Regions from separate parts of the Homo sapiens genome. Here region 2 is linked to region 1. Evidence: promoter capture Hi-C in 16 types of primary human blood cells and fetal thymus (Javierre and others, 2016). All regions are on one chromosome and are shown on one strand. Each heading gives the region's core, a stretch centred on a gene start or on the middle of the fragment in contact. The rest is flanking DNA. Distances are from core to core; before and after follow the strand shown. Region 1 holds the start of PROK1 (prokineticin 1). Region 2 overlaps KCNC4 (potassium voltage-gated channel subfamily C member 4).

What was found. The method cuts DNA at HindIII sites, captures the fragments that hold promoters and counts their contacts. A CHiCAGO score of 5 or more calls a contact.
Region 2: a fragment that was not itself captured here is called in contact with the fragment with the promoter of PROK1 in region 1 in 1 of 17 cell types (neutrophils); the score reaches 7.2 in neutrophils.

What each region holds. Positions count from the first base shown.
Region 1 is chr1:110,449,871-110,452,570 of GRCh38, forward strand. PROK1 (prokineticin 1) reads left to right here and starts at 1,279. Exons shown (of 3, transcript NM_032414.3): 1 at 1,279-1,418. The coding sequence starts at 1,347. The HindIII fragment of the contact is 11,265 bases long and covers 1-1,858 here.
Region 2 is chr1:110,230,830-110,233,529 of GRCh38, forward strand. It overlaps KCNC4 (potassium voltage-gated channel subfamily C member 4), which reads left to right. Exons shown (of 4, transcript NM_001039574.3): 4 at 2,082-2,700. The coding sequence ends at 2,143. Among named protein-coding and RNA genes, the nearest start is that of KCNC4, 22 kb to the left of the region's middle. The HindIII fragment of the contact is 6,522 bases long and covers 1-2,700 here.

The sequences.
Region 1 (2,700 bases), core at 29-2,528:
GTTAACCTTCCTCTCTGCACTCATAAATGCCTATCAGCGTTTCAATGTGGAAACCCTAGACCCCTGTGACATTTGATAAGAAAGGTTTTGTGGATGAATCTGCTTGTGAAATACTACAAACTGCATTTCCCACTTGGTGTTTCAAACACTTATTAGCATATGAAAGGCCCTGAAAAGTTCTGCAAAAAACAAGCCGGTTTGTGTTTCCCAAATTTTTGACTGTAGAAGTCTTTTATTTGTTTATTTGTGTATTAACATATTGCAACACATACCTTGGGAAATGTTGGCTTTTATTACTGTGGAGAGAAGGCAGATCATCTGACAAAGCACTGGGAGCTCTCTCTGGGTCGTATGACACAGAGAGGGCTGGGGTCAGGGGCTTCCCTCACAGGCGGAGGGGCCATCCCGAAAGTCAACTTCCCACCAGACTGGCATCTGAGACCACCGTGTTTATACACTCACGGATAAGGCCACTCTCATGCTCACCCCTAAAACTGGAAGGCCAGTGGTGTGGCTCTGGTACCTTTCAGCCACAGCCCATACCAGCTCGGCTCTGCAGGGTACTGAGAGAGTGTGTGCCCTGTATGTTTGCTGGCTTTCTGCCCTTGGGTCATTGTACCAAGGGACACTTGCTGGTGTTCATCCTGAGCCCATGAGAGAGCAAATCCTTATGTGTGTGTCACTTAGGAACATCAGCCCCACAAGTCTGGTCTTTTTTTCCTCACTGTCTTATGGCTCCTCACTATAATTTTAACCTTTTAGAGAAATAAGGATACCACCTCACCCTCTTCTGTCTTCTCAGCTACCTCTGTGTTGAGCCCATGGTAAATGCCTAGATAAGTCTTGGTGTGAGTGAGAGGGAACCAATAATCTTGTATGTTGCATAGTTTGGTGCAGGGAAGCATAAATGGTGATGTTGCAAATCCCTTAATTCATTACCAGAGGCTTTCCTCTGCCCCAAGTAGGATAGAAGGATACCCAGAGGCAGAAAAGAACATTGAGTGAAATATACATAACTGTCTGAATCACTGCGTTCTTGGGAGAGTTAGAGCAACCGTCAAAGCCCCCCAAGTATCCATTTTTATTGGTTTTGATGTTGATTTGATGTTGTTAGAGATTCAGGTCTCATCTTCGCTTCTGAGATCATCTGAGTAACATCGGTGTTGGAGAAGGGAAGAGCAGAGATGAGGCATCCACAGGCAGCCCTGGATCCTGAGTGTAAACATCTGGGAGGAGGCGGGGGATGCAGGAGAGCCTGGCCTCCCCAGCTTGCCAGGCACAAGGCTGAGCGGGAGGAAGCGAGAGGCATCTAAGCAGGCAGTGTTTTGCCTTCACCCCAAGTGACCATGAGAGGTGCCACGCGAGTCTCAATCATGCTCCTCCTAGTAACTGTGTCTGACTGTGCTGTGATCACAGGGGTAAGTCGCCTAACATTCTCTGTGCCTTGGGTTTTGGGAAGATGTCAGGGTCTGCACGGGTTGTGAGCCCAGGAACCATGCAGGAGGCTCTGTTGGCTCAACACAGTGTGAACCAAAGGGAATGGGGAATTATGCATTAAAGGGATTGCATGCGATTTTCAGACTAGTTAGACCTCACTCTACTAAATGGGATCTGCTTTTGAGAAGCTGTGTATGAATCAAATCCTGTTTTCAATGTGTTAGCAGAGCATTGAACATTTTGAAGTTCAGTCCTTTGGTAAAGTGAAGATTCCTATTAAGTAATAAGGAATTCCTTTATAAAGTGGATTGGCAAACCTTAACTTATCTTTTGTGTGAATTTTAATTTTTATTTATGGTCTGATTCACATATTAATATTAATATTAATTTACATAGCATGTTGACTTAATTAAAGGCAGTAAGCTTAATTAAAGGTGGTAAGCTTATAAACTTCTATTGTATAAACTTAACCTCCGCTTAGAAAGGATATCTTTGAAACTCTTTCACTCTGTGCCTGCCTAGTTAGTTCTGAGAGGAATATGGGTGCCACTAACATTCAGCTGAGTGTACCCCAAAGCAAGCATCCAGATAACAAGTAGATATCCAGTCTCGAAGCAGAGAAGCAAAGGTTCAGCATATGGGCACTGTACAATTGGTTCAAAATATTCAGATCATGGTTTTCTCTCGGAAGTTTGCTTTTACCTCAAACCACCTTCAAATAGGGGCACATGATGTGTTATGGTAGCAGGACCATTCTTACTGAAGCAGAAAGCAATGCTGTACCTGAGAGCTTTCCATATAAAATCCACTGGAAGAAAAAGGTCGGGGAAGCAGGGAAACTAACTTTTAGTTCAGCCTCCACCAGCTTTTTACATGGATAGTGGAAATGTAGAGAAATGCCAAACAATTCCTGGAATTGGGTTAATTTTACCATTCACAGAAAGGACAAATTCTTTCTTTTCTCTTTTAAAGGAAAAACACTGAGTTCAAAAGAACAAATATTAAAGGCGAGTCAAATGCTTTTGAGATCCAAAGCAAAAATAAAAATAATTGTGAAGGCAGAATTATACCTAATGAAGTGTTTACACTGTAGGCTGCCCTTCTATGGGGTAGCTTGAAAATCTGGGAGGGCAAGAACAATGGAGAGAAGCCCCGGCTGCTGCGCGGTGAGGGCAGGAGCAGCGTGGTTGGCCTGGATGCCAGGCTTGCCTCACCACCCGTGCCAGCTCCAGCACTGGCCCAGAGTGACAGCAGGGCAGGCAG
Region 2 (2,700 bases), core at 39-2,538, 220 kb before region 1:
GGTGAGCCCAGGCATTTGCAGAACCCCTGCATACCAGGCACTGCCACAGGAAGTGGCTGCCTGTACAGGCGTCAGGCTCACCCAGGCCTTGAGCCTCCCTCCTTGAGAGAAGGCTCTCTCCCACCCACCATCTGAGAGTAGAGTTTGTTTTCCTTGGGCTAGACTTGGACCTGCACCCACTACTTTGTTGTCAGATGCCTTTCCCCTGCAGCTGGAGCTCAGCCCCTTCCCACAGAACTGGGAGGCAGTCTGGGTAGGAGTTCACAACCTCGCCTTCCAGTCTGTAGCAGGGTTACTGGCAACCTAGAGACCAATTTTCAGGGCTTCTGAGAGGTAGAACCAGAAGGAAGGGCACTGCAACCTAGAAGCTGGCTGACAGGAGCCAGAGGGGAGGCCATGGACTGGCTGCAGGGCCCAGGCTGCCCTTTCACAGAGCTTCCTGGGAGAGGAGGGCCTGCTCTGCTCTGGCCAGCGTCACCCTCTGAAATCCCTGCCCCACCCCTGGTGGGTCAAATAGGTAAGAATCCAGGATGAGATTCCTAGGAAGACCCCTCCCCAACTCTCAGAGGTCCCTGAGGATGGAGAGTCCATGGAAGCCAGTGGAAAAGCAATCTAAGGCCATTATCTCAGTATGGGCTGCTCTGCTCCCTGGCTTCTGGGACACTTGACAGCCTTGCTGTGACTCCTTCTGTCTCATCCTAGACCCATCCTAGACCCCTCAGTAGCCCAGGCATTCTCACCGGTGCATCTTAGGGCCTAATTGCCTACTGGGAGCCCAGAGGCACTTCCCTGTCCCCTAATGAGTGGGGATCAGTGGCAGGTGTTGCTTAAGTTACGCAGACAGGAGTACAGGGCAAGACCACAGCTCTGTCTGCGTGTCCTCAGAAATGGGGCTCTGAAGAACCCTGAATTCCTCTGATTTCAAGGATAGTACTCAGAGGCCCAGAACACTTGTAGGCAAAGGGGCAGTGTTTAAGGAGGTGGCTGGGGCATACAGTCTTAAGAAGATGGAAACAGCATCACCCCAAGATGAGGACACCCCTTCCCTAGAAAGGTGATGGAGGCACCCCGAAGCCCAGGATGGAAGCTGTGAGGTCTGGATGCCACATCTGCACTCCACCTTGACAGGAGGCCTAGCCCTAGACCTCAGACCCGAGAGCTGCAGGGGTTGTCCCAGCGGGTCTGGAACTCCCACCTCCACTGTTGACCCAGATCTGCAGCTGGGACAGCAGTACTCCTACCTGCCCTACCTGTGCTCCCACTGGTAAGGTAGGGGAAGGAAAGGCCCAGGTGGTAGACATCCCAGGCTGAGGGTGGGATCCCAAAAGGGCTCTCTGAGGGGTTGGGTTTCTCAATAAGGTACTATTTCCTGACCTTCTCTCCTGAGACAGGCACATTCGTCCTCCGTGACCTTCCCCTTCAGCATTCACCTGAGGCTGCATGCCCTCCAACTGCTGGGACTCTGTTCCTGCCACATTGAGGAAGGGGGCTGGGCACGACATGGCATCATACTCAGGAGCCTTCTTCACCAGCTCCTTGGGACAATGGAATATCCCAGGGTGGTGACAGCAGATGGAGCTACTTGGGGGAGAGCTCAAGTTGGTCAGGCAACAGCTGGGGTGATGGCCTGTGAGCCACAGGCCACATCAGGAACTTTCCCCACTGCCTCCATGCAAGGCTGCAGAGCTATGGTCCCTTTCTCCACTGCACTGGAGCTTTGAAGACCTAAGAGGCTAGTGGTTCCTGGAGCTAGTGGTTACCTGAACAGGTATGGCGATGAGCTACAACATCACCTGAGTCACCAGAGTTGGGTTGGCAGAGGGGTGAAGGGTTCACCCCATTCCCTGACCCATCCATGCTCTTCCTGGCCTTTTAGCCCTGGGTTCCTCATGCCTTCCAGCTCTGCTCCTGGTCTACTCCTTAGCCCACACCCTGTGGGTCAGCAGCTGGCTTCCTTCTAACGTCTCATTCTTTGTTTCTCCCTTTCTTTTGCTGAACTCCCTGTCCCCCCAACCCCAGAAGGCAATGTTGAGCCGAAAGCGTGCGTCCCAGTGTCTCACACCTGTGCTCTTTAAACACAGAGACCTGCCAAGACGCCCTCTCGTCCAACTATGCCCAGGCTGAAGTCCTCACCCTCTCTTAAAGCGGCACCAACGTGAGAGAGACAGGCAGACAGACAGAAAGCCAGAGGCTTAGGGAAACTCTGGAACCCAGACAAGAATCTTTTCGCTGGGAAAGACTCAGATATCCTTGTTTGCACAGGACTGGTGGAAAATCTCCCATGCGACCCTCGGGGCCCAGAGCCATCTGGGTCTGATGTTCTGTTCCATTGTACATCGAAGAGATATATATGCACATATAGTATCTATATTCATACATATTATACTCTTGTGTGTAGTGCACGTGCTATTGGTGGTTTGTCTTCTTTGTTAGGCTGTGTCTCCCTAAGCCCTTGCCCCACCCAGAGTTTCCCGTCCCCTTCACTGATTTCTGTTGTTTCTGCTGACTGTGTGGGTGGAATGTCCCAAGAAAAGTGCATCTGGGAATTGCCAGTCCAGCTGGGTAGTCCCAGGCTCCTGTCTTGGGGATGTTTCCCCTGTCAGCAAGTAACCTGGTGAAGTCTATTGAAGGCCAGACTGCCCCCTAGGGTCACTGCTTCACTAGCCGCACCCCACCCCAGATTGGGGTTCTACCTCCCAC